Linked DNA regions of Homo sapiens: regions 2 and 3 are each linked to region 1. Evidence: promoter capture Hi-C in 16 types of primary human blood cells and fetal thymus (Javierre and others, 2016). All regions are on one chromosome and are shown on one strand. Each heading gives the region's core, a stretch centred on a gene start or on the middle of the fragment in contact. The rest is flanking DNA. Distances are from core to core; before and after follow the strand shown. Region 1 holds the start of HM13 (histocompatibility minor 13). Region 2 overlaps TPX2 (TPX2 microtubule nucleation factor). Region 3 overlaps BCL2L1 (BCL2 like 1).

Region 1 (3,958 bases), core at 788-3,287:
GGCGTGAACCCGGAAGCTGGAGGTTGCAGTGAGCCGAAATCGTGCCACTGCACTCCAGCCTGGGTGACATAGCAAGACTCCATCTCAAAAAAAAAAATAAAAAATAAATAAAATAAAATAAAATAGGCACTCTTGCGGGAGGTGGCAGCTCATGCCTATAATTGCAGAACTTTGGGAGGCCGAAGTGGGCAGATTGCTTGAGCCCAGGAGTTTGAGACCAGCCTGGGCAACATGCCGAAACCCCATCTCTACTAAAAACACAAAAAGTTAGCCGGGCGTGGTGGCACACACCTGTGGTCCCAGCTACTGGGGAGGCTGAGGTGGGAGAATCACCCAAGCCCAGAAGGTAGAGGCTGCAGTGAGCTGTGATCATGCCACTGCACTCCAGCCTGGGTGACAGAGTGAGACCCTGTCTCAAAATAATAATAATAATAATAATAATAATAGGCCCTCCTTGAAGTTTTTTGTTTGCACAGTCACACAGTGATGCTTAGATGTTCCAGTATCTAATATAGCCACAGTAGGCTGCAAGCAGTGGCTCATACCTGTAATCCCAACACTTTAGGAGGCTGAGGCAGGAGGATCACTTGAACCTAGGAGTTTGAGACCAGCCTGGCCAACATGGCAAAACCCCATGTCTAAGAAAATATATATTTTTAACTTTTTTAACAATATCAAAAATAAGAATCACATAAATAAACAGATTCTTCAAATTCTGAAAAGAGCCACAAAGCTTTATAAATTGTACAGGGGCATGAACTCGTAAGGTATTATAATTGCCTGGCACATAGTAGGCTCTCAATACATTTGCAAACTCCACACACACCTTACTTTCTTTTGCTTTATTTTTCTCTATTTATCTGCATTAACATGCTATGTAACACATAACTATACATTAACGTTTTACAAATTACAAATTTTTCTTGTTTTTTTTTTTTTTTTTTTTGAGACAGAGTCTCACTCTGTCGCCCAGGCTGGAGTGCAGTGGGCTCACTGCAACCTCCGCCTCCCAGGTTCAAGCCAGTCTCCTGCCTCAGCCTCCCAAGTAGCTGGGATTGTAGGCGCCCGCCACCACGCCCGGCTAATTTTTTATATTTTTAGTACAGACGGGGTTTCACCGTGTTAGCCAGGATGGTCTCGATCTCCTGACCTCGCAATCTGCCCACCTCGGCCTCCCAAAGTGCTGGGATTACAGGCGTGAGCCACCGCGCCTGGCCTTTTTTTTTTTTTTTTTTTTTTTTTTTTTCAGACGGAGTTTCGCTCTTGTTGCCCAGGCTGGAGTGCAATGGCTCAGTCTTGGCTCACTGCAACCTCCGCCTCCCGGGTTCAGGCGATTCTCCTGCCTCAGCCTCCCGAGTAGCTGGGATTACAGGTGCGTGCCACCACGCCCGGCTAATTGTTTGTATTTTTAGTGCAGACGGGGTTTCACCATATTGGTCAGGCTGGTCTCGAACTCGTGACGTCAGGTGATCCACCCGCCTCGGCCTCCTAGAGTGCTGGGATTACAGGCGTGAGCCACTGCGCCCAGCCCATTTTACAGACTTTTATTTTGTTCAGTTTCTTTATTGTCTTCCCAACGTCCCCCCACACACACTGCACTAAAATGCAAACTTCACGAAGGCAAGGAGGAACTTTTGCCTGTATTGTTCACCTCAGTGTCCCCAGAGCCTAGGTCAGTTGTTGGCATATTGAGGGACATTCAATAAATATTTAAGGAGTGAATAAACAATTGGATACCCAATAAATGCATGTATGAATAAACACATTCTTAGTTATTCGGAATATGAGGATTTGCGGAGAGTGGACAGCAGGGGATTGAGGAGACCGGCTGGGACTGGGAAATGGGCATTCGGGTCGCATGCCCACCGCAGTGGCCCAGAGCCCCTGTCCGGACCGCTAACAAGTTGCTTAGCAACCCGCCGCCCGGCCCTCGGCCACCGCTAGAGGGCGAGCGGGCGGGGAGACGTGCACGCGCGCGCGCGTGCGTGCAAGCGTGTGTGCGCGCGTGCGCGGCGCGGGCTTGGGAGGGAGCACGTCACTTCCTGTTGCCTTAGGGGAACGTGGCTTTCCCTGCAGAGCCGGTGTCTCCGCCTGCGTCCCTGCTGCAGCAACCGGAGCTGGAGTCGGATCCCGAACGCACCCTCGCCATGGACTCGGCCCTCAGCGATCCGCATAACGGCAGTGCCGAGGCAGGCGGCCCCACCAACAGCACTACGCGGCCGCCTTCCACGCCCGAGGGCATCGCGCTGGCCTACGGCAGCCTCCTGCTCATGGCGCTGCTGCCCATCTTCTTCGGCGCCCTGCGCTCCGTACGCTGCGCCCGCGGCAAGGTAGGGTCAGCGGGAAAACCGGGCACTTTCCACCCCCATACCGAACACGGCCGACATGGACCCTTCCTAGGCGGGACAGACACCTCTCCCCGGACACTGACTCTTCCCAGCCCTGATCACCACCGTTCCCTCTGTCTCGGGCCCACATTCCGGGGCTGGCATTTCCTACCCCGGGATCTGGGCACCGACCCCCGACCAGGGTATGATACCTTCCCCAATAGGAACTTGCTTCTGCTCCCGACCCGGACCCTGACACTTCCCTCCCTGTGCATCATGCCGCGGCTGGGAACGCTGTCAGCCCGTCCCCCACTGCGACTCGGGCACTGATTGTTCTGAGCCTGTTGGGCCCAGGCAGATCAGCCCCATCATGTATACCTGATGGATACTGGTCCTCACAACTTACTGAATGGTACAATTTCGTGTCATTCCCTGTTAGGAACCCTGCCTCAGCCCACCGCAGGGCCCTTTCTACCATCCAGACCCATCCCTAGACTCTGACTCCTGTCTCACTGGAATCTATGGCACCTTATGTGCTCACCTAGATCCCCCACACCTGGCCCTTGCCCCTGCCTCAAAAACAATGATCTCTTAGAGCCCAGTTTTTCACATCACTTTCTGGAACCATCCCAGTCAGCTGGCTCCTCAGAAGCTGGCATCTTGGTGCCTCTACTTTCCAACTAGGCATGGACGTCTTATTTTCCTGGTTTCCTCTCTTAACTACCATCCAACCTTGGACATGGCCTAGTCAAAACCTAGACCTTGTTCCTAACCTGTAACCCTTTTCCCACCCAGCCTTTGACCCTATCTCAAAGTAGCCCTTCTCCCCATACCCCCAAGACAATCCCCCCACCAAACTGGGCCTGTCTGCTGGGCCACTGTTGGCCCCTCTTGTGAGACTGGGCCAGACTCCATCCCTGGCCTTCCTCAACATCTGTCCTATTGGATAACTAGGAGGACTCCAGCACATTTCACCTTCTGCTTCTCCCTCCCCCTTCCCTGCCCCACTTCTTCCCTATATTAAGCCCTTTCTAGCCCGTTGTACCAATGACTTTTCACTTCCTGGCACCCTCTCCCTTCCTCCACAACCTCTTAATCTGCACCTTCCCGATGCTCCTCCCCCACCCAGACCTGAGGATGGACCTAAGTGGAAGTCTTGCCCAAAGAGGGCAGGCCCACAAAGCAGCTGCCACTTTTGAAACTGCTGAAGCTGAGGTTCTCAAAACACTACCCAACTTGAGCAGTAGCTGAGGCCTGCCATCTTCCTTCCCCAGGAGCAGAGAACTCACTACTGGCTCTGTATGCGATCAGATGCAAAGGAAAGTAGTTAGGCGGGGCTTAGGCTGAGAGACTCAAACATGACTCCATTTTCCTTTTTATTTGGCTTTTTCTAAGCTGAGTTCAGGTGATATTAAGCCTCTCTACTATGCCTGTCAGGTAGACACTTAGTGTAGAGAGCAGTTCTGAGATAACCCAGGACAGAGGAGGCGAAGGACAGCTGGCATAAGGCTAGGCAGCTTGATCTGAGCTGCTCTCCAAACTGAGTAATTCTCCCTGGCACCTTCTGTACATGGATCACTAATCTCTGCAGAAAACACCTTCCAGGCAACAGTATTTCCTGAACTTCCACC
Region 2 (3,958 bases), core at 796-3,295, 230 kb after region 1:
TTTTTAAAAACTTTTGACATGTAACACCAAATTGCCTTGTAGGAAGATTATGCTGATTTACCTAAAACAGTATATATTCACATAGGCATAAATGTATAACTTAAAATAGGTAATATATTTGCATGGTGCAAAAATCAAAAGAATATAAAAAGCTTCATGGTTTAAAATCTTCCTCCAGCCTTGTTACTTCTTCACTCTCACCATCCATAGGTAAACACTTTTTTTTTTTTTTTTTTGGAGACAGAGTCTCACTCTGTCAACCAGGCTGGAATACAGTGGCACAATCTCAGCTTACTGCAACCTCTGCCTCCCTGGTTCAAGTGATTCTCCTGCCTCAGCCTCCCGAGTAGCTAGGATTACAGGCACGCCACCACACCTGGCTAATTTTTGTATTTTTATTAGAGATGGGGTTTTGCCATATTGGCCAGGCTGGTCTTGAACTCCTGACCTCAGGTGATCCACCTGCCTTGGCCTCCCAGAGTGCTGGGATTACAGGCATGAGCCATCTAATAAACACTTTTATTAGGTTCTTGGGTTTGAGTGTTTGTGTGTTATTCCCCAAACCAGATACCTTTTGAAGGGAATAAATCTCTATAAAATGAAATGACTGCTATTTGACTAGGATTGTAATCTGCAGCCACACTGTCAACCATTACAAACTTTTTCAGCTTCATACTATTGGAATATCAGATTACTTTGGGTTTCTACTAAGATTTCCTTTTAGTATTTTACAAAGCTCTCTGTCATTATCTGTCCTAGTAGTAAACAGCATCATTGATTTCCATCTAGGTCCTATTAGTCATAGGTGGATTATGGTTTGTTGAGTTCTATGGATAAATTATAGCAAAACTGAGTTTGTAATCCTTAAAAAAGGGCAATATGAAACATACAAGTTTGGGAGAGAAATGATAGGAAATATATTTGCTTGAAGTTTCTGGACAGTGATGAATTAGAACAAGTGTCCATGTGTCCTGTGCTGACTTCTGAGTGTTGGACAGTGAGGGATTGTCATTGGATTTTAAATTGACCCAATTTTGGAAGCTTCATAGATCTGTTTCTGTAAACAGATCCAATTTCAACATAGAAGTTAGCAAACATAAATGTGGAAACACAAAGTCCATTAAACTTCCTTCAGACTTAGTTTGTGACTTTGATTAACAGTTAAAATTGCATGCTGGATTATGTTGCCATTTACTGACTGCTGCTAATCCCTTATATACAAGAAAAAAATGTAGGTGTTTTCTCTCTGGGTAAGATGAAAGTAACTCCACTCTATTTTACTTGTGGTAATGTAACAGGATCTCTTATCCCTTGTGAAAGTAGGAGAGGATGTCCCTGGAGAAATGGCACTGCCTGGGATGGGACCATCTTAACTAACTATACTTCTAATGAAGTCTTGTCTTACTCTGTTTATTCTATTATATTACCAGTTTAACTCATGACTTTCTCTTTAATAGAAATAGGCAAGTCATATCTCACTGACTGGATAGCAAGGTGTTTGAGAGCATCTGTCACACCAAAGTCTTTGTTTTGCTCAGGAGCTGGTAGTCCCCTATTTCACCCTGCTTAGAATGCACCCTCTTGCAGCTTTCCCCAACCCGGTCTGAACCTGCACCTTTTGATTTATAGAGCTTGTCAAGACTAGTTATTTTTGGTTTGAGAGTGAAGAAAGATGGGAGGCAATGGGAGGTTAATTTCAGATGAATGTGGGAACAGGTTACATTGCTTTGTCTGCAATCTTCCTAATTTGTATTTGTCTTCCCCTTCCATTTATCTCTTACCCTAGAAAAAGTCAACGTTCATTCTTAGCTTGTAGAACTCCGCAGGTCTGTCTGTATCTTTTAAGTATTTTTTACATCAGGAAACCATCTCTGATCCTCTTTTATGCTGTTCTCCTTCTCTGCACTTCCAGAGCGCTCTCTGTTAATGCCCTCTTGCAGCAAGGATAGCCCTATATTGTAATTGTTTGCATTCCCCCATTCAATTGTGCGTTCTTGGAGGGAAGAGATTTTTTTTTGTTGTTGTTGTTTGAGAAGGAGTCTCGCTCTGTCCCAGGCTGGAGTGCAGCGGTGCAATCTCGGCTCACTGCAGCCTCCACCTCCTGGGTTCAAGCTATTTTCCTGCCTCAGCCTCCCGAGTAGCTGGGATTAAAGGCACGTACCCACCACGCCCGCTAATTTTTGTATTTTTAGTAGAGACGGGTTTCACCATGTTGGCCTGGCTGATCTCGAACTCCTGACTTCGTGATCCGCCTGCCTTGGCCTCCCAAAGTACTGGGATTACAGGCATAAGTCACTGTGCCCGGCCGAGATTTTATATCTCTATCTCTGTCTGTCTGTCTGTCTGTCTGTCTATCTATCTATCTATCTATCGTTTTAGTCTTCGCTTTTTGGAAACAAAAATGGGCTATAAGACACGATGGATGGCATTGAATAGGCAGTTTTTAGAGGAACCTAATTGGTTCATAGCATACAGGATAGGCTTTTTCCTTGGGTCTTTGTAGGAATATTGGTCATTAATAGCTATTTTTCCATGCAGAATATTTCTAGTTTTGCAAGAATCTGAAGCTGTGGTAGATTCAGATAATTTTGAAATGTGAAGCTGATTCTCTTGCTTGGCAACTTGATTTGTTTGGGGGAATGTGGTTGACGCATGTGCCTTTTTTTTTTTTTTTTTTTTGGTGAGACCTGTTGACAGAAATTCAATCTTGATTAAGGGACGCAGGAAGGCATCCAGTTCCCACCATGCCTGGGGCTCTCTCATTTAAACAGCTGCCTTTGGCTCTGGCCTGTTCCATTTCCCACTAGGCCCTGTGGACTTTAATTTTGGAAGATTTCACATCCTCATATTTATTATTTCTGGGGGAGGTAGTGTCGTGAAACCGAAATTACCCAGTAGTTAGCTTTTCGTTTTCTTGATGTACTTGTCCTATCAGCCTTAATTGAAGAGAGTCAGACTTCTCAATGGATATGTATTTATTTATTCTCTTTTTCCAGGGAGAGGGGATGGTCTCCTGAGTTGGCCATTCTAGACCAAAATATAGCTTAAAAGAAGCTTTTTTAAAGAACAGGTCATGTTAGGAAAATAATATTTTGTTTTTAAAATTTCACCTAAAGATTAAGTGTACTTAGGTTTGCACCCCTCGCCGTTTGTTCCCCACTAATCAAATGTAGTCTTAGACCTCAGAGGACAGCCTTTCTTCTGCTGCTTGAACCCTCTTCATAGTCTCTTTACTCTAGAATATCACTGAGGTTTTCACTAACCACCATCTTATATAGAGGAAAAACTTCATATGGAAAAGTATACTTAAAAAAAGAGGAATCAATGGATTTTTTAAAAAATTTATGGGAAGATTCAGATCAGAGCTTTCCAAATATATTTATAACAGGATTTGTAATTTGCTAAAGTTTTCTTTATGAGCATATCAGGGATGCTTAGTTTTCATAAAGGGCAGGATTTGTCTTTGTTGAACAGGATCTTATGATTTGATTACCTACCTCCTTTTTGAAGCAATGTTTATAGGAAAACTTGTGCATTAGAGAGACCCCAGATTTTGGAATCCTGCAGACTTGTTCTTTTAAAACTCAACACTGCTATGTATTAGTTTGGTGATCTTGGAATAGTGTAACTTCTCTGAGCTTGTTTCCTTGTTTATAAAATGGTGATGGTAGCATTTATTTATAAAGACATCTATCTATTGTCTATATTGTTAATGCAGTTTAAACGAGATGATTTATGTGAAGTGTCTGGTAAGGTGCCTGGCCTACAGTAGACAGTATTTGGAAGTTATTATCTCTTGCTCCATGACATTTGTTATTTATCTATTTAAATGTGAATTTTTTTTTTTTTTTTTGAGACAGAGTCTTGCTTTGTTGCCCAGGCTGGAGTGCAGTGGCGCGATCTCGGCTCACTGCAACCTCCGCCTCCTGGGTTCACGCCATTCTCCTGCCTCAGCCTC
Region 3 (3,958 bases), core at 621-3,120, 180 kb after region 1:
CGTCCTTCCCTATTATGAAATGTCCTGGGTGCATAGCATCACCACTGTGTCATCTACTTGTGCCTGCACCCATGCAAACACACAGGGACACAAAGCTGGAAAAGGGCTGGTTTTGAGAAGGAGTAAGCCTGGGCAGTTGAAACCCAGGTTCGGTGTACTCTAGGGCACTTACTTCTAGGTGACTGTCCTTGCCACTGCTGGCGTACCAAGGTCTCCCAGTCATATGCCCATGCACTGTATACATTTTGGCATTTATTCTCATGAATAAAGTGTCATTAGAGGCCAGACACTGCTGGCTAACGCCTGTAATCGCAGCACTTTGGGACGTCAAGGTGGGAGGACTGCTTGAGCCCAGGAGTTAGAGACCAGTCTGGACAACACAGTGAGACCTTGTCTCTACTAAAAATTTAAAAATAAGCTAGTCGGCCGGGTGTGGTGGCTCACACCTGTAATCCTAGCACTTTGGGAAGCCGAGGCGGGTGGATCATCTGAGGTCAGGAGTTCGAGACGAGCCTGGCCAACGTGGTCAAACTCTGTCTCTACCAAAAATACAAAAATTAGCTGGGCATGGTGGTGGGTGACTGTAATCCCAGCTACTCGGGAGGCTGAGGCAGGAGAATCACTTGAATCCAGGAGGCGGAGGCTGCAGTGAGCCGAGATCAAGCCACTCCAGCCTGGGCAACAGAGCAAGACTCTATCTCAAAAAAAAAAAAAAAAAAAAAATTAGCTAGGCATGATGGCATGTGCCTATATTTTAGCTTCACTATTTTCACATGTAAAATGGATGTCACAGGGCATATGGCTCCTTGGAATATTACATGAGATAACATATTTAAATCATTCAGCAGTATACTTAGCACCCATGGAGTGCTCAATGGATGGTAGCTCTGTAGATCAGCTCTCAATAGAGGGACAGGCCATTAGATAAGCTTGGGGAAGGCTTCCTGGAAAAGACTGGCTTGGTACTGGACTTTGGAGCCTGGATAGAATATACATGAATGTTGGCTGGAAGGAGCCTATTCAAATGGAAGAGGGAAGAGGACAGGCTTTGGATGCTGGCAGTTTGCTGTGTAATCTTTAACAGGTGACTTTCTTTTTTTTTTTTTTAGACGGAGTCTCGCTCTGTCACCCAGGCTGGAGTGCAGTGGCACGATCTTGACTCACTGCAACCTCCACCTCCCGGGTTCATGCCATTCTCCTGCCTTAGCCTCCCAAGTAGCTGGGACTGCAGGTGCCCGCCACCACGCCCGGCTAATTTTTTGTATTTTTAGTAGAGACGGGGTTTCACCGTGTTAGCCAGGATGGTCTCAAACTCCTGACCTCATGATCTGCCCACCTCATCCTCCCAAAGTGCTGGGATTACAGGCGTGAGCCACTGTGCCCGGCCTAACAGGTGACTTTACCTCTCAAAGTCTCAGTTTTCTTCTCTGTAGAATGTGGATACCACTAGAGCATACCTCATAAAACTGTTGGGAGGATTAATGAGGTGCTATACTGATAAGTGGAAACCACTGAACAGAATCCTCAGCATGTGCTGTTGCTGTTTTTTTTTTTTTGAGACGGAGTCTCGCTTTGTTGCCCAGGCTGGAGTGCAGTGGCACAATCTCAGCTCACTGCAATCTCCACCTCCCGGGCTCAAGCAGTTTTCCTGCCTCAGCCTCCTGAGTAACTGGGATGATAGGCACACGCCATCATGCCTGGCTAATTTTTGTATTTTTAGTAGAGATGGGGTTTCACCATGTTGGCCAGGCTAGTCTTAAACTTCTGACCTCAAGTGATCTGCCTGCCTCGGCCTCCCAAAGTGCTGGGATGACAGGCGTGAACCATCGTGCCCAGCCTGGTGATCCTTTAAAAATGTATGTCGGACTGTCATTTCTTGGTTCAAAACCCTCCAATGACTCTTTTTTCTGAGACAGGATTTTGCTCTGTCGCCCAGGTTGGAGTTCTGTGAGATGTGTTCATAGCTCACTGCAGCCATGAACTCCCAGGCTCAAGTGATCCTCCCACCTTAGCCTCCTGAGTAGCCAAGATTATTGGCATGTGCCACCATGCCTGACAAATTTTTTGTAGAGATGGAGGTCTCACTGTACTGCTCAGGCTGATGTTGAATTCCTGGGCTCAAGTGATCCTCCCACCTCAGACTCCCAAAGTTTTGGGATTACAGGCATGAGCTACTGGACCCAGTCGATTTTCCTTCTTTTTTTTTTTGGAGACGGTCTCGCTTTGTCACCTAGGCTGGGGTATAGTGGTGTGAACATGGCTCACTGCAACCTTGACCTCCTGGACTCAAGTGTTTCTCCCATCTCAGCCTCCCGAGTAGCTGGGAATACAGGTGCGAAACACCACACCCGGCTAATTTTTGTATTTTTTTGTAGAGACAGAGTTTCGCCATGTTGCCCAGGCTGGTCTCAAACTCCTAAGCTCAAGCAATCTGCCTGCCTCAGCCTCCTAAAGTGCTCAGATTACAGGCATGAGCCACCACACCTGCCCTTTTTTGCTTTTCAATTAGTGAGTCAAGGGGAGATCTCCAATATATCTCCAATAGTGTGGTGGCTGGTCTGCTCTGAAATGTAAGCAGTTTTTTTTTGTCCCCTTGACCAGACTCTAAAAGTCTTAAGGTCAAAAAGTCCACAAATAACGTTTTGTTTACCCATCCTACAGTGCTAGGCCTAAGCCTCGGACTTAGGCAAAGGAGATCAGAAGGGTCATATGGCTAAATGTAGGTGGACAAGAGGGAGTCGGGGAGGGCCTTCCTGTGAATCCTCCTGCCTCTCAAGGACGCTCTGTTCCCTTAGCTTGAGAAGCCTTGAGGAAAGCTTTTTCCATGAACAAGCTTTTAAAAACCTTTTAGCTCTTTAAAAGCAGCAAGTACCATTCCAGTCATGACCCTGCAGACAGGTGGAACACCCATACTCCAGCCTCATTCTGAAGAGACTTGCAGAGCAGGAAGGAAGGGGTAATGACTTTCAGTTCCAGTAATGTATCTAGAAGCAGCAGCTGATTCAGCTAGATGATGTCACCTTCCCAAACCTCCTGACCAGCAGCTGAGATGGTAAAAGCAGGAAACAGGGGATACTCAGCTGGCTAAGTCCGAACATGCCTCTGGCAAAGGCCTACAGTAACCCCAGGCTCTGGAGGCATCCTCCTGAAGATGAGGAGAAAGAGTCCTCTCAGCTGGGAGTACAGTAGGTGTCCTTCAAGACCCTCAAACCAAGATGCTTCTCCAACTCTCCTTTTGCTAAGCAGCTTTCTGCATATCCTGAACCAACAATCCTTCATTTATTCCAAGAGTGGAGCAGGGGAAAGAAGCCTGGCTTTAGAGCCAGCCCAATCTAGGTCCAAATCCAGGATTCACCACGTAAAGCTGCAGGACCCTGGCATGCAACTTCACTTATCCAAACCTTAGTTTCTTTACTGGAAAAGAAAGTAGGGCTAATGGACCATTTAGCACACAGTCTAGGTGAGGGAATTAAATGAGAAAATGCATGTAGAGTACCTGACATGGGCTAGGTGCTCAATAAATGGTAGTCAACCATTATCCCATTGGATCTCTGCAGAGGAGATTTGAAAGATCACCTCCATCTATAACACAAAAGGAAACAAAGGTACCAACTAGACCCAACAGTGTCAAAGCTGAGTAACTGAGTTGGCCCATGCATATAGTTGCTTCCTAGATATTCCATTACTCAGTTTCATTTTCTGTACAGCATTTAACCCAATCCCTGAAATAATCTTGTTTGTTTCTCGGGCTAGCTGTCTCTCCCATTAAAGTAAGAGTTCTACAAGAGCAATGTCCTTGACCTTATCTTGTTTATCTTAGCATCTTCAGCATGTAGCACAGGGCCTGGCACATAGTTGGTGCTCAATAAACATTTGCCGAATCGCCAAATGAATAGCACCTGGGATGGCCAAAAGCTAAACTGACAATGGCCCCACACTTAACTCCTCCCCTCACTAT

Evidence for each region. Contacts are between HindIII fragments. The CHiCAGO score rates a contact against its expected background, and 5 or more counts as called.
Region 2: a fragment that was not itself captured here is called in contact with the fragment with the promoter of HM13 in region 1 in 1 of 17 cell types (non-activated CD4 T cells); the score reaches 5.0 in non-activated CD4 T cells.
Region 3: a contact is called between a fragment that was not itself captured here and the fragment with the promoter of HM13 in region 1, in 2 of 17 cell types (M2 macrophages and M0 macrophages). The highest score is 6.8, in M2 macrophages.

What each region holds. Positions count from the first base shown.
Region 1 is chr20:31,512,405-31,516,362 of GRCh38, forward strand. HM13 (histocompatibility minor 13) reads left to right here and starts at 2,038. Exons shown (of 13, transcript NM_178581.3): 1 at 2,038-2,330. The coding sequence starts at 2,148. RefSeq lists a silencer at 2,635-2,704. The HindIII fragment of the contact is 3,704 bases long and covers 732-3,958 here.
Region 2 is chr20:31,745,111-31,749,068 of GRCh38, forward strand. The region is part of intron 2 of TPX2 (TPX2 microtubule nucleation factor); the gene reads left to right. Among named protein-coding and RNA genes, the nearest start is that of TPX2, 7.8 kb to the left of the region's middle. The HindIII fragment of the contact is 2,013 bases long and covers 1,040-3,052 here.
Region 3 is chr20:31,696,350-31,700,307 of GRCh38, forward strand. The region is part of intron 2 of BCL2L1 (BCL2 like 1); the gene reads right to left. The region is part of intron 3 of BCL2L1-AS1 (BCL2L1 antisense RNA 1); the gene reads left to right. Among named protein-coding and RNA genes, the nearest start is that of BCL2L1-AS1, 23 kb to the left of the region's middle. RefSeq lists enhancers at 1,705-2,652, 3,036-3,085. The HindIII fragment of the contact is 1,887 bases long and covers 928-2,814 here.